Linked DNA regions of Homo sapiens: regions 1, 2, 3, 4, 5 and 6 are each linked to region 7. The links are contacts of gene promoters, found by promoter capture Hi-C in blood cells and fetal thymus (Javierre and others, 2016). All regions are on one chromosome and are shown on one strand. The core of a region is centred on a gene start or on the middle of the fragment in contact, and the rest is flanking DNA. Distances in the headings are between cores, read along the strand shown. Region 1 overlaps ICA1 (islet cell autoantigen 1). Region 2 overlaps ICA1-AS1 (ICA1 antisense RNA 1). Region 3 overlaps ICA1-AS1 (ICA1 antisense RNA 1). Region 4 overlaps ICA1 (islet cell autoantigen 1). Region 5 overlaps ICA1 (islet cell autoantigen 1). Region 6 overlaps ICA1 (islet cell autoantigen 1). Region 7 holds the start of MIOS (meiosis regulator for oocyte development).

What was found. The method cuts DNA at HindIII sites, captures the fragments that hold promoters and counts their contacts. A CHiCAGO score of 5 or more calls a contact.
Region 1: a contact is called between a fragment that was not itself captured here and the fragment with the promoter of MIOS in region 7, in 10 of 17 cell types (activated CD4 T cells, naive CD8 T cells, total B cells and 7 more). The highest score is 9.6, in activated CD4 T cells.
Region 2: a contact is called between a fragment that was not itself captured here and the fragment with the promoter of MIOS in region 7, in 2 of 17 cell types (erythroblasts and fetal thymus). The highest score is 6.0, in erythroblasts.
Region 3: a contact is called between a fragment that was not itself captured here and the fragment with the promoter of MIOS in region 7, in 4 of 17 cell types (erythroblasts, M2 macrophages, fetal thymus and 1 more). The highest score is 9.0, in erythroblasts.
Region 4: a contact is called between a fragment that was not itself captured here and the fragment with the promoter of MIOS in region 7, in 3 of 17 cell types (erythroblasts, M0 macrophages and M2 macrophages). The highest score is 6.9, in erythroblasts.
Region 5: a fragment that was not itself captured here is called in contact with the fragment with the promoter of MIOS in region 7 in 17 of 17 cell types (total CD4 T cells, naive CD8 T cells, non-activated CD4 T cells and 14 more); the score reaches 21.7 in total CD4 T cells.
Region 6: a contact is called between a fragment that was not itself captured here and the fragment with the promoter of MIOS in region 7, in 2 of 17 cell types (erythroblasts and neutrophils). The highest score is 6.7, in erythroblasts.

What each region holds. Positions count from the first base shown.
Region 1 is chr7:8,197,055-8,200,664 of GRCh38, reverse strand. All of the region lies in intron 6 of ICA1 (islet cell autoantigen 1), which reads left to right. Among named protein-coding and RNA genes, the nearest start is that of ICA1, 63 kb to the left of the region's middle. The HindIII fragment of the contact is 4,758 bases long and covers 1-3,610 here.
Region 2 is chr7:8,275,489-8,278,866 of GRCh38, reverse strand. All of the region lies in intron 3 of ICA1-AS1 (ICA1 antisense RNA 1), which reads right to left. Among named protein-coding and RNA genes, the nearest start is that of ICA1-AS1, 15 kb to the right of the region's middle. The HindIII fragment of the contact is 3,463 bases long and covers 1-3,340 here.
Region 3 is chr7:8,296,781-8,300,068 of GRCh38, reverse strand. The region is part of intron 3 of ICA1-AS1 (ICA1 antisense RNA 1); the gene reads right to left. Among named protein-coding and RNA genes, the nearest start is that of ICA1-AS1, 36 kb to the right of the region's middle. The HindIII fragment of the contact is 4,184 bases long and covers 1-3,288 here.
Region 4 is chr7:8,255,748-8,259,094 of GRCh38, reverse strand. The region is part of intron 1 of ICA1 (islet cell autoantigen 1); the gene reads left to right. Among named protein-coding and RNA genes, the nearest start is that of ICA1, 4.7 kb to the left of the region's middle. The HindIII fragment of the contact is 3,608 bases long and covers 17-3,347 here.
Region 5 is chr7:8,219,441-8,222,751 of GRCh38, reverse strand. ICA1 (islet cell autoantigen 1) reads left to right here. Exons shown (of 14, transcript NM_001136020.3): 5 at 1,354-1,477. Among named protein-coding and RNA genes, the nearest start is that of ICA1, 41 kb to the left of the region's middle. RefSeq lists an enhancer at 704-1,260. The HindIII fragment of the contact is 2,392 bases long and covers 703-3,094 here.
Region 6 is chr7:8,236,440-8,239,807 of GRCh38, reverse strand. All of the region lies in intron 1 of ICA1 (islet cell autoantigen 1), which reads left to right. Among named protein-coding and RNA genes, the nearest start is that of ICA1, 24 kb to the left of the region's middle. The HindIII fragment of the contact is 2,898 bases long and covers 1-2,809 here.
Region 7 is chr7:7,564,966-7,568,511 of GRCh38, reverse strand. MIOS (meiosis regulator for oocyte development) reads right to left here and starts at 1,628. Exons shown (of 13, transcript NM_019005.4): 1 at 1,440-1,628; 2 at 824-905; 3 at 389-486. It overlaps MIOS-DT (MIOS divergent transcript), which reads left to right and starts at 2,447. Exons shown (of 5, transcript NR_110084.1): 1 at 2,447-2,598. RefSeq lists an enhancer at 838-907 and a silencer at 1,158-1,807. The HindIII fragment of the contact is 13,372 bases long and covers 1-2,125 here.

The sequences.
Region 1 (3,610 bases), core at 127-2,626, 630 kb before region 7:
TCCAGTTTCCTATATTCAAGTGTTCTTTTTGCTCCCTTTCCATGAGACCTCATCGGTCTCATCTCTGATTCCCAGCAAGGCCCCTTCCATACTTGTCAACCTTCACATGGCATGTGCTTGCTCTTATGTCCGTGCCCTTCATGATTGCGTCCCCCAAACAGGAAGTCAATCTGTTCCTTTATTTCCTCCATGTCAACTTATGGCCACTTCTTTAATCTGGCATAAAATCCAAACTTCCACGAGTTCACTTTTTCATTAATATAGTACTTTGTAATTGTTCTAATATATTGTTTTGTAATTGTTCTTTTTTTTTTTTTTTTTTTTTTGCTCAACTGTGCTAAAGGTTCTCAAAGACTTTAAGAAGCCCTAATTACTTCTGTCATCCCGGAAACACATGGCACTATGCTTTAACTGAATAAATGTTCAGTTGATGTACTTTTTAATTTTTTAAATTTTATTTTTTGTGGGTACATAGTAGGTATATGTATTTATGAGGTACCCGAGATGTTTTGATACAGGCGTGCAATGCATAATAATCACATCGTGTAAAATGGGGTATCCATTTCCTCAAGCATTTATCTTTTGTGTTATAAACAATTCAATTATACTCTTTTAGTTACTTTAAAATGTACAATTAAATTATTATTCACTGTAGTCCCCCTGTTGTGCTATCACATACTAGGTCTTACTCATTTTTTCTATTTTTTTGTACCCATTAGCCATCCCGACTTCCCTTCCCACTTCCCATTACCCTTCCCAGCCTCTGGTAACCATCCTACTCTCTGTCTCCATGAGTTCAATTGTTTTGATGTTTAGGTTCCACAAATAAGTGAGAACATGCAATGTTTGTCTTTCTGTGCCTGGCTTATTTCACTTAACATAATGACCTCCAGTTCCATCCATGTTGTTGCAAACGACAGGAATTCATTCTTTTGTTTTTTGTTTTTGTTTTGAGACAGAGTCTCGCTCTGTCATCAGTGTGGAGCACAGTGGCATGATCTTGGCTCACTGCAACCTCTGCCTCCTGGGTTCAGGCAATTCTCCTGCCTCAGCCTCCTGAGTAGCTGGGATTACAGGCACCTGTCACCACACCCGGCTAATTTTTTTTATTTTTTTAGTAGAGACAGGGTTTCACCATGTTGGCCAAGCTGGTCTCAAACTCCTGACCTCAAGTGATCCGCCCGCCTTGGCCTCCCAAAGTGCTGGGGTTACAGGCGTGAGCCACCATGCCTGGCCAGGAACTCATTCTTTTTATGGCTGAATAGTACTCTATTGTGTATAAGTACCACATTTTCTTTATCCATTCATCTATTGATGGACACTTAGGTTGCTTCCAAATCATAGCTGTAGTGAACAGCCAAGAGCCTGTATTTGCTGCAACAAATACAGGAGTGCAGATATGTCTTTGATATACTGATTTCCTTTCTTTTGGGTATATACCCTGCAGTGGGATTGTTGGATCATATGGTAGCTCTACTTTTAGTTTTCTGAGGAACCTCCAGACAGTTCTCCACAATGGTTGTACTGATTTATCAGGGTTCCCCTTTTCTCCACATCCTTGCCAGAATTTGTTATTGCCTGTCTTTTGGATAAAGGCCATTTTAACTGGGGTGAGATGATCTTTCATTGTCATTTTGATTTGCATTTCTCTGATGATGAACGATGTTGAGCACTTTTTTGTATGCCTGTTTGCCATTTCTGTGTCTTGAGAAATGTCTATTCAAATCTTTTGCCCACTTTTATATCAGATTATTAGATTTTTTCCTATTGAGTTATTTGAGCTTCTTATATACTCTAGTTATTAATCCATTGTCAGGTAGTTTGCACATTATTTTCTCCCATTCTGTGGGTCATCTCTTCACGTTGTTGTTTCCTTTGCTGTGCAGAACTGCTCCCTTTATTGTCACTGAGGCTGGAAACCTAAAGAACATCTTGATGCCTTACTCTCTCACACCTCCTACATCCAACAAATCATCAGATTAGCATATTTTGACCTTCCAAATATTTTCCAGATCTATGTCTTCTTAAGTCTGTCATCTCGGCTCTTGTTCAGGCCTTATGACGCTCGCCTGGACCACCAGTCTCTGGCTTGGCTTCCTGCTTCAAGTCTGCCTTCCACATACCCCAGTGTGACTGAAATGAAACCCAAATCCAACCACATCAACGTCTCTGCAAAGTAACTGCCAAGGCCACAGGATTGAGTTCAAGCTCCTCAACATCCCACAAAGCCCTCTGTGGTTTCACTCTGGTCCAAATCTAGGGTTTTAATTCACACTATTTTCAGCCTCATATTTTCTGTTGCAATAACATCAAGCTACTTGATTTTCTCCAAACAATGCTTTGCTCATATTGTCTCCTCTGCTAGGAGACAGGTTGAGGTTGATACCATCTCAGCAGGTATGTGGATGATTTCCCTTCAACCTGGAGAAAGAGAATAGAAGTCCACAAGAGAAGGAGCATGAAGTAGCACAGTGTGCAGCGCAGGATGGGTGGATGTTTGTGACAATGGGTAACATTTATGCAAACCACATTTTCTGCCATAGGCCATTAGCTTGTATTCTGCTTCCATATTTTGGCTTGTGGTATACCACAATCTGTATTGTTTGTTACATACACAACTTTTAGAAATTTTAATTTTCAAAAGAAAGTTGATAGAAATACATCATTCCAAAATATAGGGAATACTCTTCTGATAAAATCATTATGTATAACATATATTTTCGGTTGATTCCCTAACATCCATTCCATCCTATCACTTCCACTTCCAAAGGTATCCAAACCATCAGTTCATAAAACTTTGAGAGTTCTGAATTAACCAGGTAGTTTTTAGGTTTTTTCCATTGCCAGATTTGGATTTAGCTTTCTTGGGTCTGTTCATTTAGTTATAAGTCATCTATCTACTTTCCAGCTTCCAACGTTTAGTAGTGGTAGCTCTTTTCCCATCTTCTTTGTTCTCGTTTGTGCCCCCTTAGAGTTTTTGGTGGGCTTTCAGGGTTGAATAGAGCTAAATGGATGGCTTCCACCCTTCATCTTTAATAGAAAGACTCCATTATTATTATTATTATTATTATTATTATTATTATTATTATTTCTTCTTTCTTCTTTTTTTTTTTTTTTCTGAGACGAAGTCCCACTCTATTGCCTAAGCTGGAGTGCAGTGGTGTGATCACTGCAACCTCCACCTCCCGGGTTCAAGTGAGTCTTCTGCCCCAGTCTCCCGAGTAGCTGGGACTACAGGCACGCACCGCCATGCCCGGCTAATTTTTGTATTTTTAGTAGAGATGGGGTTTCACTATGTTGGCCAGGCTTGTCTTGAAGTCCTGACCTTGTGATCCGCCCGCTTCGGCCTCCCAAAGTGCTGGGATTACAGGCGTGAGCCACCACACCCAGCCTCTTCTTTTTTTTAATGTGGTTGGCAAATGGTAGACATTTTTTAAGGGTCTGAAGCATAATTTTTATTATCTTTTCTCATCTTTACCATCTGTCTTTTTTTTTTCAGCATCTACATTAAGGATATACATCTGTCTTTTTTACCCCTTCCCAAAGACATTTTTTAAATGCTCATGTGTAGAAAAATTATATATATTAATATATCTATTAGTCTGCTAAT
Region 2 (3,378 bases), core at 360-2,859, 710 kb before region 7:
TGCTAGTAAATGAAAGTAAACTGCTCAAAATAAAAGCATAGTCATGAAACTAAAGAAGACCAAATACAATTGTACATAATAGTAAAAAACTTAACCCAAGATAATTAACAAACATGCTATTCTTGCAACTTAAATATGAATGGGTGATTTCACTGTTATTGATAGGATTTCAGAAAAATATTTTCTTCTTTTTAGTGTCTAAATCTGATCTACATGGGTGTTTCTTCAAGAGTGGATCACAAACCAACACAACAGGGAGAAAAGACAATAGATGGAAGAGGTTACGTTGAGGAAAGAAAAGGTAACAGAGGAGGAAGAGGAGGATAGCCTCAGTGTAAACCAATAAATAGTTACTGCGTGTCCCAGGTTCCATGCTAAGATTGGCAACATAAGTTGGCAGGTTTCTGCTGCAAACTTACCAACCAATACTTGGTAACTCCTCAGGGTTACTGAGCCAGATATGGCCTGAATAAGAGCACACTTATCACCATTTACACAAAGATGAAGCACAGGAAGAAGGGAACACAGTTTCTTACAGATCTGCACCTGGACTCTGTGAGCCCTCTCTCTGTATTCTCTACCTTACCCAGGCTGCTCCAGCCTCTCAGTGCCAGAGTTAGTGGTTCTCAAAATATGGTGTGTATCAGAATAACCTGGGGAGATGGCTTACAATGTGCAATTATTGGCCTCACTCCAAGAATTGATCCATTAGTTCAAGATAGAATGCACATTGTTAATGAACCTCTCAGGTCTACTTGCCCACACTGAAGTTTAAGAACCTCTGCCCTAAGGAGAGAGCTTCACGCCCATGAGGGAATCATATATTCTCTGACTTTTTAAAAAGGCAAGTCGTGGTCATAGTCATTGGGGAGGTTTGAGTATATATTAAGATACATTTTAAATAAAAATTGTAGGATTAAATATTAAACAGTAGTAGAAATAAGAAATGGGACCTATGTGAATTTAAAGACTTTTAAAAACTATTCTAAAATTGTTTCTGCTTTACATGATGAAGAGATTATTTTTGACATTAAAAAGTAGAACGTCTATGACTAAATCTGGTAGATATAGCAGAAGGCCTAACCAGAAATATCAAACTCACCGTGGTTAACAACAGGGCATCAGAATCACATGCTGATCTTTATAAACTTATAGATGCTACATACAGTCCCACTCCACACCTATTGAATCAAAATATCTGGGGATAAAGCCCAGCCAAGAAAAACTTTGATAGCTGGCAGGGCTGAGATCTCCTGCTTTCAACCAGGACAAAGACACTACTGCCACCTGATGGAAATGTACCTAAATTGTAAGGACAGCTTTTGGAATGGTAGTTTCCTTTGCGAGCTGAATCTAAGCTAATCTGTTGAACTGGCAAACACAATGATAACCATAAAAAATGTAAATATACAGAAAAATACAAAAATTTCTAACTGCACATTTGTTAATTTTTATGGAAAATATTAGGACTGGGAGAGGTGGCTCACGCCTGTAATCCCAGCACTTTGGGAGGCTGAGACGGGTGGATCATGAGGTCAGGAGATGGAGACCATCTGGCTAACACGGTGAAACCCCGTTCTCTACTAAAAATACGAAAAATTAGCCAGGCGTGGTGGCGGGCACCTGTAGTCCCAGCTACTCGGGAGGCTGAGGCAGGAGAATGGTGTGAACCCGGGAGGCGGAGCTTGCAGTGAGCCGAGACTGTGCCACTGCATTCCAGCCTGGGCGACAGAGCGAGACTCCATCTCAAAAAAAAAAAAAAAAATTTGGGCTGGGTGCAGTGGCTTATGCCTAGGCAGAAGAATGACTTGAGCCGGGAGTTTGAGACCAGTCTGGGTAATATAGCAAGGCCCCATCTCTATAAAAAATTTAAAAATTAGCCAGGCATATGGGTGCGGATCTGTAGTCCTACCTACTCAGGAGGCTGAGGTGGAGCACTTGAGCCCGGGGAGTTCGATCCTGCAGTGAGCTATGATCATGCCACTGCACTCTAGCCTGGGTGAGAGCAAGACCCTGTCTTTATAATACATTTAAAAATATAAATAAAATATTTGAAGCCTAAAATAGAATGTGTTAGGTTTATACGGAGTTTTGTCATGTATAAAGTATATTCACATGCATTAATTAGATTAACTCTTCATTATATTTTAGGAGGGGAGTTATTAGCACATTTTATATATGAAAAAACTGGCTTAGAGAGGGTAGATGATTATCCCAGCTGTTCCAAACTTGTCTGCATGTTGGAACCACCTGGGGAGCTTCAAAGAGTACTCATGTCTGTGTGGCAGCCCTAAAGATTGAGATTTAGTTGGTCTGGGTGTGGCCTAAGTTTTGGGATTTTTAAAAGATACCCTTTGATTCTAATGTGCGGAGAGTTGGGGAAAAACTAGACTAGCCTCCAATCACCTAGATGGTAGTGAATGAAACTGGAGTTCAGGTGTTTTGACATCAAATTAATACTCATAGAATTATATTTGACATAAAGCTCAAATATAATAATTATCCTCAACTAATACCCATTGAATTTTACGATAGAGAAGGGTTTTCAGATTCTTCTGGCCATAAGAATCAGCTGAGTTAGTTGTCAAAAATGTAGAATCTCAGGTCCCTCTACCAAAGTTTTCTATTTGGAATTGCATGTTCCCAGCCATAAATGGGTGCTAAAATTGTGTACACATAGACATAGTGGAATGATAGGCAATGAACACTGGGAAGGGTGAGAGGGTGGAAAGGGGGCAGATGATGAGAAATTAATTAATGGGCACGTTATTCTGGTCATGGGTACCCTAAAAACCCTGACTTGACTACTACACAATCCATGAATGTAACAAAATGGCACATGTACCCCATAAATTGTACAAAAAAAAAATCTGATTTCGAAGGAGCCTGGTGAGTGTACATATTTCACAAGTGTTTACCTGATTTGGGGGATAAAGTAAATTTGGAAAATCTATAATAGAGAATATCAGACCATGTAGTATTATAAAATAGTAGTATTGAGTATCAAAGTTTGGTTTGAAAAATGGCTAAGAATTAATGGAGAGACTTTATCAAAACACAGCCAAGAGAATTAACACCCCACCCTCAGAGGGTCTAGTTGTATACAAACTATTCACTCATCCATTAATTCAACACACTTTGATTAAACACCTAACATTGTACATTCAAGGCACTATGGTGGATGTGTAAGGGAACACACAAGCTGGGCAGAGTCTTTGCCTTCAAAGACCTAATTGCCTAAGTATATCTCTTGTGGGAGAATGCATAATGTTTGAGCTGGGTCATGGTTATAGGTCCAATGGCTCTTGTTTTTCTAAGTGAGAAAGATTTCATTTAAGCTTGCTTCAGCAAGCATTTATTCAGAGCTCTAGTAACTGT
Region 3 (3,288 bases), core at 429-2,928, 730 kb before region 7:
ATTGTCCCTGTTTGCAGATGACATGATTGTATATCTAGAAAACCCCACTGTCTCAGCCCAAAATCTCCTTAAGCTGATAAGCAACTTCAGCAAAGTCTCAGGATACAAAATCAATGTGCAAAAATCACAAGCATTCCTACACACCAACAACAGACAAACAGAGAGCCAAATCATGAGTGAACTCCCATTCACAATTGCTTCAAAGAGAAAAAAATACCTACGAATCCAACTTACAAGGGATGTGAAGGACCTCTTCAAGGAGAACTACAAACCGCTGCTCAAGGAAATAAAAGAGGATACAAACAAATGGAAGAACATTCCATGCTCATGGGTAGGAAGAATCAATATCGTGAAAATGGCCATACTGCCCAAGGTAATTTACAGATTCAATGCCATCCCCATCAAGCTACCTATGCCTTTCTTCACAGAATTGGAAAAAACTACTTTAAAGTTTATATGGAACCAAAAAAGAGCCCGCATCACCAAGTCAATCCTAAGCCAAAAGAACAAAGCTGGAGGCATCACACTACCCGACTTCAAACTATACTACAAGGCTACAGTAACCAAAACAGCATGGTACTGGTACCAAAACAGAGATATAGATCAATGGAACAGAACAGAGCCCTCAGAAGTAACGCCGCATATCTACAACTATCTGATCTTTGACAAACCTGAGAAAAACAAGCAATGGGGAAAGGATTCCCTATTTAATAAATGGTGCTGGGAAAACTGGCTAGCCATATGTAGAAAGCTGAAACTGGATCCCTTCCTTACACCTTATACAAAAATCAATTCAAGATGGATTAAAGACTTAAATGTTAGACCTAAAACCATAAAAACCCTAGAAGAAAACCTAGGCATTACCATTCAGGACATAGGCATGGGCAAGGACTTCATGTCTAAAACACCAAAAGCAATGGCAACCAAAGCCAAAATTGACAAATGGGATCTAATTAAACTAAAGAGCTTCTGCACAGCAAAAGAAACTACCATCAGAGTGAACAGGCAACCTACAAAATGGGAGAAAATTTTCGCAACCTACTCATCTGACAAAGGGCTAATATCCAGAATCTACAGTGAACCCAAATTTACAAGAAAAAAACAAACAACCCCATCAAAAAGTGGGCAAAGGACATGAACAGACACTTCTCAAAAGAAGACATTTATGCAGCCAAAAAACACATGAAAAAATGCTCACCATCACTGGCCATCAGAAAAATGCAAATCAAAACCACAATGAGATACCATCTCATACCAGTTAGAATGGCAATCATTAAAAAGTCAGGAAACAACAGGTGCTGGAGAGGATGTGGAGAAATATGAACAACTTTTACACTGTTGGTGGGACTGTAAACTAGTTCAACCATTGTGGAAGTCAGTGTGGCGATTCCTCATGGATCTAGAACTAGAAATACCTTTTGACCCAGCCATCCCATTACTGGGTATATACCCAAAGGACTATAAATCATGCTGCTATAAAGACACATGCACATGTATGTTTACTGCGGCATTATTCACAATAGCAAAGACTTGGAACCAACCCAAATGTCCAACAATGATAGACTGGATTAAGAAAATGTGGCACATATATACCATGGAATACTATGCAGCCATAAAAAATGATGAGTTCATGTCCTTTGTAGGGACATGGATGAAATTGGAAACCATCATTCTCAGTAAACTATCGCAAGAACAAAAAACCAAACACCGCATATTCTCACTCATAGGTGGGAATTGAACAATGAGATCACATGGACACAGGAAGGGGAACATCACACTCTGGGGACTGTTGTGGGGTTGGGGGAGGGGGGAGGGATAGCATTGGGAGATATACCTAATGCTAGATGACGAGTTAGTGGGTGCAGCGCACCAGCATGGCACATGTATACATATGTAACTAACCTGCACAATGTGCACATGTACCCTAAAACTTAAAGTATAATAATAAAAATAAATAAATAAATAAAATAAAAAAAAAGGAAAAAAAAATTAAGAAAATTTATCTTCACTGACTCAATGTACAAATAAATAAATGATAGCAAGGCCAACTGCAGCTCTAAATAGTAGAGAATATAAATGATTCAAGCATAAAATGGTCAGAGTTCCCTGAATAAATATTTTCCTACAGTCATGTATAAATAATTCTGATTTCTGTCTGAACCACCTGTCTGCGTTCCTAGGGAAACTAAAGTGAATACATGCCTGTCTGTGACTCTACTCCCTGTATCAAAAGCCAAAGTGGACACAGCTACAGAGGGGAGAGAGGTTGTCTCCACATTCTGTTGTTGGATCACTCTCTTATTCACAATCGTCCCAGAAGCCATAGACAATAAAGGAAGGAGGAGCTGATGCAAAGGAATTGGATAGGGAGGTTCTCACCCTTCCATGTGTGCGGATAGTTTGGGTGTGTTGTAAAGACTCCAGACCACGCTCCAGACCATCTAAAGTTCCGGCTTCCATTTCTAACTGCCCTTACTAGAGCCTTAGGAAAAGCATTTAAATGCACTGCGACTTGGGTTGCTTCTCTTACATAGTAAGGAAAGAACCAGGAACAGACAAGATAATAATGATGATAATTTTTTTTTTTTTTTGAGACGGAGTCTCACTCTTTCGCCCAGTCTGGAGTGAGTGGCACAATCTCTACTCATTGCAACCTCTGCCTCCCAGGTTCAAGCAATTCTCTTGGCTCAGCCTGCTAAGTAGCTGAGATTACAGGTGTGTGCCACCACGCCCGGCTAATTTTTGTATTTTTATTTATTTATTTATTTACTTTTAACAGAGATGGGGTTTCACCATGTTGGCCAGGCTGGTCTCAAACTCCTGACCTCAGGTGGCTGCCTGCCTCGGCCTCCCAAAGTGCTGGGATTGCAGGCGTGAGCCACCACACCCGGCCAATGATGATACTTTTAAATAGTATTGAAAAAAAGAGAATTAAAGCACCATGGTGGAGACCGAGACTGGGAATGGTGAGAATTCTGAGTTAACCATTTTGGAGAAGGATTAAACTGGAGGTGCCGGTCACTCTGCACTAAAGGAAATATTAAGATTCTACACATCACAAATTGAGAATTTAAATGTGAGAGGGAAATAGTATGCATTTCATAAAAGTACACTTGCTTATGTATTCATTTATGTATAAAAAATTAGAGTTGTGGGAGACAAGAGAACTAGGATTCAGAAAGCAGGGGTAAGGACCTCACCACCATCAAAGGGAAACCAAGAAATTATGACAAACAAAATGAAGATTGAGATTTACCCTGCCTCTGTCTATATTTACAAAAAGGGAGC
Region 4 (3,347 bases), core at 571-3,070, 690 kb before region 7:
GATTCCCGGTCAAGCTTCCTTCATCTGCTGTTAAGCAACATCTCAGGTAGCTCTGATCCCTAGGGTCTCCCACAGACTGTCCAGCACACTACTCTAAAATGAGCCTCTGTCCTCTTCCTTCACAAAGCACTTTGGCAACTATGATCTTATGTGATACTCAACCCCCTTTGAGATAAGTAGATATTATAATCTCCATCTGTCTGATAAGGACTGCAGGCATGATTTGCCCTGGATAGATGCATATGGTAGAACTGCCTTGGAGCCTCTAAAAATCCTGGCTGACCACACTTTCACTATTCTAGCAATTTACTATTTAGTATTATAGCATCAAATTAACATAGTTTTTGTTTTTTGACCTGTAAGTAATTTTCACAAATAACTAATGAATCTCTCCAGGACAGGGAAGACTACATGTGATAGGGCATTTTATACCTGTTTTTATAACAAAGCCTGCCTACTATGTGACTGTAGGCCAGTTGCTTAAGATAACTGAACTTAAACTTCTTCGTGAAATGAATATAAATCATTATGTCAACTTGGCCGTATTGCGAGGATACTCCGTGATGTGGGTGAAGCATACACCCCAGTGTCTGAGAAGTGGCAGTTCCTCAATTAGTGGTAACTCCTTGTCCCAGTGTAAACCTAGTGAGCTAGAATGAGTTCATGAAAAGGTGGGGAAATGATGGCCTGCATCACTCATGATGGGAATCATCTGTCTCTCTTGCTAAGTCAGATGACATCATCCATCAGGCCTTTGACCAAATCAGAGAAGTGGGATGACTTAGTATTGAACAAGCATTGGTTGTATATGTGCCATGAGCTACACACTGTGCTAAACACTCAGAATCCCAAGACTCAGACCCCACCATGCTCTGGAGGAGCGTACAGCTGAGTAAAAGAGGGAAAGAGAGGAGTCAACTAACCAATTGCCTTTCAGGGAAAGCAAGAAGGAGATAGAGACACAGGTGGTAATGCAGCCCAGGGCGGGGGCATCCCACCCCAACAGGAGAAAGGGCAGAGAAACCCTGAGATGCTTCATGGAGGAGATTGCCCTTGAGTTGAGCCTGAAACAACCAGTAGGAATTCAGCAGGTAAATAAGGGTTGGGAGTGGGGAGAAAGAGCGTTCCCCACTCCCAACCATGTGTATGTGTGTACAAAAGTCAACAAGTAAGGGAGAGAATGCTAATACAAATAGTCCTCGTGTCTGGAGCCCAGTGTCTATGTGTGTCCCTTACTAGCTGAGTGGCCTTGGACAAGTCTGATCATCTGTGATTCAGGAGGATTAGATGCACTAATTAGTGTAAGCACAGGACTGATTCTAAATATTCGTTGCATGGTTGTGGAGGTGGTGGAGGTATTAGTAGAAAATAGGGGACTAATATTAAAAAGTCATTAGAATCAGAGAACATTGCAGAGTTCAATTTTAGAATACATTTAGCAGAAAATACATGAATTAAGAGAGGGTGACTGAATGCAATATAGTTCTGTGGAGTGGAAAATATGAGGTATATGTGTTCAGTGATGGACCACTGAATATATAGATAGTAGTCATTGTTAATTTTAAGAGTCTAGATTGGAGACTAGAAAGGTCCTCTGGTTCTAGTTAGTGAAAGTATTTGTACAAGAAGTGACTCTTAAGTATTGCAACAATGTTCCAAGAGTATACATATTGAAATCCATCTCTTACCATCATCATGATCACACTCACTGCCACATCTCTGTTCCCAGAACAGGGCATAGACATCAGTTTCTGAAACCTAATAGTACCTAGGGGAAAATCCGGTCTTCTCTGTGATATTTCCAGGGTAGAGCATTCTAAGCCAGAAACCAAGAAGCTGATATTTATAAATAGTGCCCCTCTCCTTAGTCATAGGAACCCTGACAACTATCAAGGAAGAAATCAATCAGCAATTGCAGGTTTTGTTGTGCACAGTAGCACTATATTGGCAGTGGATTTGGGCCTAACCCAGCACCTAAGCCTGTGATTGGGGGAGATTGTTTTTATTGAAACAGCCCCATTAATCAAGCTCCTTTCATCCAAGAGTAGAGCAGAGTAGTTAAAAACAGGAGCTCAGAAGTCAAAAGTAAACTTGTGTTTACCAGTTGTTGACTTTGGGTAAATTACTTCGTCCTTCTAAACTTTGTTTCTCACTTGCAAAATGGGTTGATATCCCCTTCATAATGTGTGGCGATGACATAATGATGTTAAGTGCTTCACACATGTAAAGTGCTTGGTAAGTGGTAGAACATAATTATTGCCCCTTGCCCAGCACATATGTACTGAATGGCTACTGTGCTCCAGGGGCCATGCTTGGTGCTAAGGAGGCAAAGATGAACTTGAGGGTCCCTGTACTCATGGGACCTACAGTCTAGTGCAGGAGATACAGATGTAATTAGCTCCTTGAAGGAGAGTACAGGAGTGCAGTGGCACCACCAGTATGGAGCAGTTAACTCTTCAGTGGGGAGGTCTGGAGTGCAAGACCCATGGGGAGAGGGATAGAGACGAGATGTTGAGTTGGGAATACTTCACTGAAGAGGCAACATTTGAGGAGAGTCTTGATGTAAATTCTAAGTTAGGCAATCAGACAAAGGAGGGGGAGGGCATTCCAAGTGGAAAGAATCATCTCAAGTCCTTGAAGTGCATAGTATATTCAGGGAAGCTCAAGCGTTCTGACATGCGCAGAGGGAATAGTTCTATCGGAGGGTGGGGAGGAGAGTAAGATTTGGGGGGAAGGGAGCCAGGATGTAAAGGGGCCTGTGTTTTTTCAAAAAATGTTTGGAATTTCTCTAGTGGCAAGAGAAAGCAATTAAAACATTTTAAGTAGGAGAGTGGAAAAATTTGATTTGCATCATATAGTGATAGGTCGGGCAGTGTTGTAAAGATTGGAATGGACAGGTACACAGATAGCATTGCCTCTTAAGGCCTAAGCTGTGAAGATAGAAAAGATAAGATGCATTCAATCGCTTTTTAAGAGGTAGAATGGAGAGAACCTGGAGACTGGTTGCAAAAGATGAAAGAGGCTGGGTGTGGTGGCTCATGTCTGTGATCCTAGCACTTTGGGAGACCAGGGCAAGAGGATTGCTTGAACTCAAGTGTTTGAGACCAGCCTGGGCAACATAGTGAGAACTCATCTCTACCAACAATTTAAAAAATTAGCTGGGTGTGGTGGTATGTGCCTGTAGTCCCAGCTACTTGGTAGGCTAAGTAAGAGGATTGCTTGAGCCCAGCAGGTCAGGGCTGCAGTGAGTCATGATTGTGCCACTGCACTCCAGCCTGGGCAACAGAGCAAGACCCTGCCAAAAAAAAAAAAAAAGAGAAAGAAGTGAGGTTTTCAACTTAGGCCAT
Region 5 (3,311 bases), core at 649-3,148, 650 kb before region 7:
TGGTGAACTTGATTTTTGAGAGACAGAAGAGAAGCAGGGTCATCATTTATCTCTCAGGAAAAATGGATTCTAAAAGCCTCTTCTTGACTGGGCCTTCCCAAGGGAATGTTTAGGGTGAAACTATAGTCACAAATTAATAAGGTAGCAGTATCGAGTTTAGCCTTCACCTTTGGATTTGTGGTTCCTGCCTAATGTCCTACAATTATTGTTAGTGAGATTATGTCAGGAATGGGGGTGCATTCTTAAAGAAAAGTGACTGGTTTGTGAAAGCTGACAAGAATCCTAGTAGCATTTAGAAAGCAGTTTTAGAGACACAGGGTATGTAAATACATCAATACAGAAATAGGAAATAAAAGTAGTGTTCAAAGTATGTTGATAGTAAATGCTGTGTTTAGGGGGAAAGCACATCCGAGGAAGCTAAGTGTCACTCTGGTGCCTGTGGCTTGGCTGCTGGTGTGTGTTCAGGACCCCCACTGTACCATTATGTGGGTATGCTGTATTTTATTAAACTAGTTCCTAGTATAAGGAGAGTGTTTCACTATTATAAATAATGATGCTATGATTGTTTTTGCATTTACATCTTTGTGCCCATTTTGCTACTTCCTTAGGAAGTTCTCCTAACAGTAGACATGGAGAGTCCAAAGATACATGTAATTCTATGATTTTTTAAATGTTTACCGTCAAATCAGTCTGCAGAAAGCTTGCACCAAATCACTTACCCACCAATAATACCATCTGAGGTTGTCTTTAAAAATAAGGCCAAGATTAGGCATCACCAATTCAGATTTGGTTCCAGCTCTGTATTTTTAAAACCCACTGTCATCAACCTGATGACCTCCCCACCCTCCGTCCCTACCCCCACTTCCAACCAAAAACCTGTGTCACAGCTGAGGTATTTGAATTGCTTTACAATGGAATAGAATGTAACTCAAAAAGCAGAGATCAAAAGTCAGCAGGAGAGAATAATGAGAGGCAGCTAGCACTGCATCCTAGGCAGCCACAAAAGATTCCCACAGTCATACTTGACAAACCCAACTCCTTTATTTCAGCTCGAAGCCGCACACTATGGGCTTACGTTTCAGTACAGAGGTCATTTTCTAGTTCTGATTACAGGGCACCAAACTCACTGACAGATGTATTCAAGTGAATTTGATCTCTCGTATTGTAAATGGAAGAACAGCCTGAAAGTTAAATGGGGGGTAGGGGGAGCTTACCCTGTAGCCTGCCGCTTAGATTTAATTTCATCTCGTCTTCGCCTCTGGAAGAGAGAGGACCTTGTGATTTGTCTTTCTTGTTCCCTTTGCAATCAAAATGCTCATTGTTCATGGCTCCTTTTGGTCTTTTCTTCATCAGTCTTGTCTCAAGAAGAAAACGAACTGGGAAAATTTCTTCGATCCCAAGGTTTCCAAGATAAAACCAGAGCAGGAAAGATGATGCAAGCGACAGGAAAGGCCCTCTGCTTTTCTTCCCAGCAAAGGTGTGTGGCCTTTAGTGGGGTTCTATCTGGGGGGATCTGAGGAGACTCCGGGACCCACCTACTCACGAAAGGGAATCTCACAGTGTTCTTTAGAAGGATTTTGCCTGAGGCTGAGGAGCTGCTCTGTACTCACTAGTTAGGCAGTTTGTACTTAACTCTCTAATTAAGATTAACACATAGGATTTTTTTTTCCTCCCTATTAATTAAAAAAAATTTTTTTTCATTTTTCTGTTGGTCTGTAGGGGCATTATATATGTCAATCACTATGAGTGCTGTCCTAGGCTTATGTTTGACCTTCAGTGTTGCTTGTAGCAATCAGTCTGGTCCCCTTCCAGCAGCTGATTAAAGCAGGAGCCTAATGAGACCAGGTTGAAGGGTTCCCTCTCTGCTCTCTGTGGACCAATTAACTTCAGAGAGGTGCTGTTCTCATGCCCAGGTCCACACTGCTCAGACCCTGGACCATAACCCGGGAGTGTGTTAGAAATGCAGAATGTAGGCCCTACCCCAGACATGCAGGATCCACATCCACATTTTAACTAGACCGCTGTTGTTTTGATGTAAATTCAAGTTTGCGAAGCTCTGGTACAGGGAAAATTGTGGTAGATGAGTGGCATTTTTTTTTAACACAACCGTGACTCATTTTTATGGTGGATGTTAAATAAGCAGGAGCCCCTGCACACAGTCACTCTCTGCGCCTGAGAAAAGTGACACTCCTCCTCGTTCCCTTCTCTCCCAGTAACTAACAAACCCCCAAAATGTCACTCACTAGTAGTAGGCAGAATGTAGGTAGTTCCCACAAATATTCAAGCTATAGAAATTTCACTTACTCAAATTGTCCAACATTTTCTTCTGTTAATGTCTCCTTGCTGCTTTCCCTCCGTGTGGGCCAAGAGCAGGCCAGCAGCATGGTACATGGTTGTTCCTTTGAAAACCCAAGAAAGAGGAGGAAAAAAGAGACCTGCTGTGTCTGTTTTTCAGTGATGCCTTCTCCTGGGCATTTTGGTTCTTCCTGATGACATTTGGACCCTGACTTTGGGGGCAATGCCAACTTTTATGCTTGAATGAAACCATTTCTAGTAGTTCTCCACACATTTCCCAAGAAAGGTATTTGTTTATCATCTTAAATCTTACCATTTAGTATTATTTATAATTTTTCTATGTAAAAATACATATTCATTCTAGAAAAATTTTAAAATAGAGACAAACCAAAAAGTGAAAATTAAAAAGCAACTAAAATTTTTACTAATAAAATGATCTACTTTTAACCTCTTAATAGATACTTTCTGTGCATATAGGACCTTTTCCAACCTTGCAAGAATAATTGATTCCTAAAAAAATATTTCATAGAGTAAGTTGTCATGTGTTAAACATATAATTATCACTAACTTCAGTGAGAAAAATTCTTAGGCAAAGGAAGAGAAACAAAGAATCTAGAAATGAATAGAATAGTTAGGGAGATAGCTGAGGACTCTTGATGTCTTTAAGTAGAAGTCATCAGTTACACAAACCTTCACACCAGTGTTTGTTTTACAGACTTATTTGGTAGTCATTGCAACAGCCATATATTCTATTTGATGAAAGGTGAGTATTAAATTAAACCAACAGGGATAACAAGCTTACTTTATGGCACAACAATGTCTTTGAAAATAATCTGCAACATCTAGGTAGGACAGTGTGAGCAGGTTATTCTTATACAAGTACTCAATATTTAAAAACAATACTTTACAGAGAAGAAGAAAACTAGGGGAAATAGTAAAAGGAAATTTTTTCTTAAATAGTTCATTGCACCATTTGTAATCTTACCGTGCTACACGCACGTAAGGCATTGCAGACG
Region 6 (3,368 bases), core at 111-2,610, 670 kb before region 7:
ACTGCTGTGCTAGCAGTGAGCAAGGCTTCATGGGCATGGGACCTGCCGAGCCAGGCGTGGGATATAAACTCCTGGTGTGCCATTTGCTGAGACTGTTGGAAAAGTGCAGTATTTGGGCGGCAGTGTCCCGATTTTCCAGGTACAGTCTGTCATGCCTTCCCTCAGCTTGGAAAGGGAAATCCCCCGACCCCTTGCACTTCCTGGGTGAGAAGATGCCCTGCCCTGTTTCGGCTCACCCTCTGTGGGTTGCACCCACTGTCAACCAGTCCCAATGAGATGAACCAGGTACCTCAGCTGGAAATGCAGAAATCACCCATCTTCTGCGTCAGCCACGCTGGGAGCTGCAGACTGGAGCTATTCCTATTCGGCCGTCTTGGAATGTGCTCATAGTCTATTTCTATTGGACAGAGCTGATCTATATTTGAGGCCAGGAAGAGTGACTGGCATGTACTCATTTGATGCTCAGTTTATGTCTGATAAACCAAACTGTTGAACTGAAATGAATGGATAACAATTATAATGATTTTTTAAAGTAGCAATTTAAATGCTGTGGATTTGGAAAGTGATAGAGCAAAACAAGATAGATTATGTCAGGAAATCTTAAGATGTTTATTAATTGTCTCTGGTATGTAGAGTTAGAACATATATAAAAAGAGATGTTAGCACTGGCTCCAGCTGCCTTCTCATGAGGCGTTCAGATGTACCCTGCAGAGCTGACCTTATTTTGACCACTTATGATTCCTTTGCTCCTGTGCCTATGATCCAGTAGTTTGTTCAAGAAAGACCAATTTCCAAAAATATTTTCCCTGTGTGCCATTTAGCTGTGGTTCTCATACTTTAATGTGCTTAAGAATGACTTGCAAAGCCTATTATAAAACTAGATTCCCAGAATCATTCTCAGAGATGCTATTTCACTAGGAAAGGAGTGGGGTCTAGGATTCTGTATATTAGTATCCCCGGAAGATTTCAATGCAAGTGGCTGTTAAACAATACCTTGAGGAACACTGCCGTATGGTATCATGATCTGGGAATAGCCTGGAAATCTAGGTAGAAGGGGCAATTTGCTCAGCAATTTTTGTTAACTATAACTATAAATAACACATACTATAAGAACTTACACTATGAAGGATTTAAATTAAAAGGCATTTTAATAAGCAAAAATTAATTAAAAAGTCATAGTAAAGGAAATAGTCAACAGAGTGAAAAGCTAACCTACAGAATATGAGAAAATATTTGCAAACCATATATTGGATAAGGGATCAATATCTGGAATATATAGAGAACTCCTGCAATAACTCCTGCAAATTAAGTTGGGTCAATAACAAAATGACCCAATTTAAAAATGGGCAAAAGACCTGCATAGACATTTCTCCAAAGAAAATATACAAATGGCAAAAAAATATGAAAAGATGCACAACATCACTAATCAGAGAACTGTAAACCAAAACCATGAGATATCACCTCACAATGCTTCGGATGGCTATTATTTTTAAAAATGGAAACAAACATTAACAAGGATGTGGAGAAAGTGGGACCCTTGCATACCATCAGTGGGCTTGAAATGGTGCAGCTGCTGTGGAAAACAATAGGCAGTTTCCTCAAAAAATTAAGTAGAGAACTGTATAATCCAGCAGTCCAAATTCTGTGTATTTGTGCAAAAGAATTGAATACAGGATCTCAGAGAGATACATTAAGACCTCATTTAATGTCATTGATAGTTCTTGGAAACTGCAACTTTAGGCAAAACGACATAAGCCATTTTTTTCTTATCAATATTATTATGAAACAGTGTTATTCTGGACCTGTGTATATCACTTTGCCTATAGTTGCAGCTTCCAAGAACCTGTCAATGAATTTGACACTGTATACTGTGTTTATTGCAGCATTATTCCCAATAGCCAAGATGTGAAAGCAACCTAAATATCCATTGACACATGAATGGTTAAAGAAAATGGTGTGTGTGTGTGTGTGTGTGTGTGTGTGTGTGTCTGTCTTCAACATTGCATATACAATGCAATATCATTCAGCCTTAAAAAGGAAGTCCTGTCATATACTACAACACAGATGAACCTTAAATGCATTATGCTAAGTGAAATAAGCCAATCACAAGAACACAAATACTGAGTGTTTGCATTTTTATGAGGTATCTAAAGTAGTCAAATTCATAGAATCAGAAACTAGAATAGTGGTTGCTGGGGGCTGTGGGAGGGGAAAATGGGGAGTTGTTCAATGGGTGTAGAATTTCCATCATGCAAGATGAAAAAGTTCTAGAGATCTGTTGTACAACAAAGTGTATATTGTTAGCACTACTATACTGTACACTTTTAAATTAAAAGAATAAACTTTTTTACCATAATAAAAATATTAATCAAAAAGTACCAACTATCCTAATAGTTCATGGTGACATTGAACTCAAGAGAAGAATATGATAATTCCATTTCCTTTGAACACCCTCTTTTTATGAAAAAATTTGTTGGAAATTTCAAGCTAACTAAAGTAAATGTGTACTTACAGTGAAGCTGTCTGGGTGGTGAGAGGACTGGGTGTTGGTAGCCTCTCCATGATGCACTGAGTGGAGGGCAGAGCTTACTTACTTACCCTGAATGTCATTCCCAAAAGCAGCTCGTCCAGATATTTGGATGCTCTCCACAAGGAAGAGAGATGTTCACTGCAGGATGCTGTCATATCAGAGGCATCTGACACTCTGGAAATTCTCTTCTTCCTCTCTCTTGTCTGCATACCTGAAGCGTGGGATTTGCACATCGTAATTTTGTCCCCTTGAAATGTTTTTAAATAGCCTAGGAAAGCTTTAATCACTTTAGGAGTACTGGTTGCCAGGATCCTTTCTGAGACCAAAGGAGAATGATTGGATTGATTTTGTGAAGCAGTCTGGGCATTCATATGCTGTGAGCACTCACTCTGGCAGCTAGAGGTTTTGCCTCTGGCCAGTGACCATTCCTTTGAGTAGTGAGCTTTCTGTTCTTTCCAGTAACTGCTGGCAAGTGGGCTAATGTGGCTGGGCTGGTGGGCCCTGGGGTGGGCTAGCTTCCATGAGTGGAGCAAATGGAGTAAGGGCAGAGACATTGACTCCAGTATTTACTAACGAGATAAATATACAAGGCTAGGCTGGTAGATACCTATTTTCCACCTTTGTGCCCTTCTTGCTATCTTATTCAAGCATATCAACCCTTTTTTGGTTTTTATTTGGGGTTTTAAAATTTTGTTCTATTTTTGTTTCTATTTTTGCAATGTGCTGGTTTGTTTCTTTAAAAATGTTGATTATAAAATATTTCAAATCTGTAAGGAGGCATACAGATGCAATATATTCACCACCTAGCTTCACAAAGAGAACACTATGTGTGCACTTG
Region 7 (3,546 bases), core at 379-2,878:
TCCACCCTTTTAAGAAGTGTATTTTTTTTCACCATGTAATATACAGGATAAACAGTTCCTTGCTCATGAACATACATCACCAAGAATCTGGTGTAAAGAAAACAATCTAGAGTCAGAAATCCTACAGCCACTCCCCAGCTCAGATCCTAACAAATCTTGTAATACTCCAAAACCATAAAACCGAGATAAAATCTATCCCATTTCCATCTCACAAAGCTGTGACAATCAACTGAAATGAGCTCTTCACATCACACAGATGTTAGTATTACTACCATTCCCTTAATCAGCCCTGAAAGTTAATGTTTTTTCCAAATTTTGGAGACATTAAAAAATTAGGTGTAGAAGGGGTGCGGTCTGCAATAATTACAGCTTGTATTTATATCCTCACCTTTCAAGTTTAACAAGTCTCACTTCCCATCAGTGATTTCTCAGCAAAGGAAAGCCATGCTGATTCTGTGTTCATTCACCAGAATATTTGCAACAGCACTGTCCAAAAGAAATACAGTGTGAGCCATATGATTTAAAAATTTCTAGTAGCCACATTTAAAAAGTAAAATTAGGTGGAATGAAATTTAAAAACACATTTTATTTAGCCAACATATCAACAGCATTATCCTTTCAATATGTAATCAATGCAAAAATTATTGAGGATTTTTACGTTTTTTTGGCACCAACTCTGGGAAATCCGATGTGTATTTTACACTTATAGCACATCTCAATCCCATGTGGCTACTGGACAGTGAAGTCCAACACATTAAAATACTACTCAGTGTACAAAGGATCCAACCACATGCTTTTTGATGTTGTCTTTTACTTTTCTTACCGTGGCAAATTACGAGAGCGGTTTCAAGAAATTTCCACCATCAGCATCTTCGAGGAGATGCACTGCACATATCCAAATTTCCCTTAAAATATACAAAAGGCCTGCAGTCATTTGCTAACCTATTCAGCAAAGTCCACAACATGTGTGAGGTTTCATTCATCCTCTTAATTTTCATTACTCATATGAGAAGAGAACAGAGCTCACCGGGAGACAGGCCGTTTAAGAAGTATAGTATTTAAGAGGGTACAACGGGAACAGGGCACGTTGCTATTCTAGGTAAAGCAGGAATCTGAGTCCGACTCTCCCGCTCCAGGCACCTGGCTGAGCCTCCCGGGAAAGGCTGGGACGCCGCTCCCCACAAGCCCGCCGCGGCGAAGGCTGTAGCGTGTTCCCTGCGCCCCGAGGAGGTCTCCGCAGGTCCCACGGCCGCCCGCAGCCCCCGGTGGCTCCCGCTGAGGCCCGGCCAGGCGGCCGGCCGCCCGGCGCGATTACCCTACAGCGCGGAACGCGCTCCCCGCCGAGACGCCCGGGCCTTTCAACTAGGCTATCTCCGGCCCCTCGCTGCGGCCGCGGCGCTCCCGAGAGTCGAGACGCGAACCGGGTCGCGCTCACTGACCTGAGGTGGCAGCGCGGCCGCCGCACAGCCGCTTCCGGCCGGGACACCGCCCCGCCCGCCGCAGGAGCCCGGACGCGGGCAAGATGGCGGCCGCGGCCGTGCGGCCCGTGACCTGGACCACTGGGCTGGGACCCACGACCCCACCACCACGCCTGGAGGACGCGCAGCGGCGCCTCGGCCTTGGAAGGGGAGTTTCCCAGCGCGAGCCCCGCCCTTCCCCGCCCGGGAGGCGCCTCGGGGCGGGGTCACTGGCCGGGAGGCCCCGCCTTCCGCCCGAAAGCGCCGGTGCACCCCGCAGGCCCTGCCCGTGGGTCCACAGGCCGGATCCCCGGGTTCCTAGGCTGGGACTGCTTCTCAGAACCACTCTGTCGTTTTTAAGCAGGGTCACACACTCTAGCTCACTGGGTCCATTTTAATTTCTATTAAACATTTTTTTTTTTTTGCAAATGATGTAGTAGGAGATCCAAGGTGTTTGGTTAATGATTTATTCACTCATTAGTCATTCCACAAACTTGTCTTGAGCACCTGTTATGTACCCAGCACTGTGCTGGAATGCTGAGGAGACAGGAGTGAAGTAAAAAGACATGGTTCCGGCAGGAAACAGGCAAGGAGAGCCTTGACTTGGTAGGGCTAACACAGTGCTACACAGGAGGGACGCCCGCTCGGTGTCGGGGGTCAGCAAAGCTTCCTTAAGGACCACTAGGTTGAGACAAGAAGGATGAGTATGGGATTAGCCAGGAAAGGGAAAAGGGCAGTGGGAACTGGAAGAGAAGAGCCTTCTAGGACTGGGAAAGAGCAAGTGCCGGGTCAGGAGAGAGGACATAGCAGTGAGGAGGCAGTAGGTATGGATGAATGAGCAGAGGAAGTGGGGAGAGATTAAGGTGCTTTCAGAAACGGGTTGGAAACCAGTTTAGTGAGTTTGGATGGCATTTACCTAAAGGCAATGTTAGAGTCATCGAAAGTTTTTAATCAGGCAAGTGGTATGATCAGTTTTTTGTTTTGTTTTGTTTTTTTTGAGACGGAGTCTGGCTATATCGCCAGGCTGGAATGCAATGGCGCGATCTCTCCTCACTGCAACCTCCGCCTCCCGGGTTCAAGCGATTCTCCTGCCTCAGCACCTCGAGTAGCTGGGACTACAGGCGCGCGCCACCACGCCCAGGTAATTTTTTGTATTTTTAGGAGAGATGGGGTTTCACCATGTTGGCGAGGGTGGTCTCATTTCTTGACCTCGTGATGCGCCCACCTCGGTCTCCCAAAGTGCTGGGATTACAGGCATGAGCCACTGTGCCCGGCCAGTATGATCAGTTTTTGCGCAGAGAGCTGGAGGGATAGAGTATCAGAATGAGGGATGATAGAAACGCAGGTTACCAGTGGCACGGAGAGTGGGCATGGAGAGAAGTGGGGGCCCTGGGGAATACTTAGAAGGCGGGATGAACAGAGCTTGGTGACTGACCAAGTGAATGACGGTGAAAGAGGATTCCAAGTTTTTTGTTCCCAAAACTGAGTGAATGGTGCTGCCTCAGGTGTCACGAGTCTGACCTCGAGGCAGTCTTCAGATGTCTGACAGTCTTTGCTTGTCTGTTCATGATTAAAAGTGGGTGGTCTTGGGCTTGTGGTGGTGATGGCTGTAAACAGCATAATGAGCTTAGTCCTGATGATCTTGGTGGCAGATGGTTTTGATAAGATGATGAGTTTGGGGAAAGTATTGCCTTTCCAATCCTGCCATTAGAAGAATGTAGGCTGAAGAAAGTGCTGTATTACTGAGAGGAGACATGACAGTATTCATCACTTCAAACACTATCTTGCCAATCTTCTCAGTGGTTTTGACCCTGGCCTCAAACCCCCACACAAAACCTCAGATCAATACAAATCTCTTCCTTATCCACTCCTACTATACATAGTTGAGGACAACTTTTCTGCTTGCACTCAGGAGATGACACTGCCTCCTACTTCAGAAAAGAAAATTAAAACTATTAGCTAGAATTTGCACAACCTCCCACTGCTTCCTCCTTCCCTCCTCCAACATCTTGATTCACTACCATTCTTACCTTCTTTTAGGTGACAAAGAGTAAGAGGAGGAACCCCATGTATATCTCCTCTTCTGGGA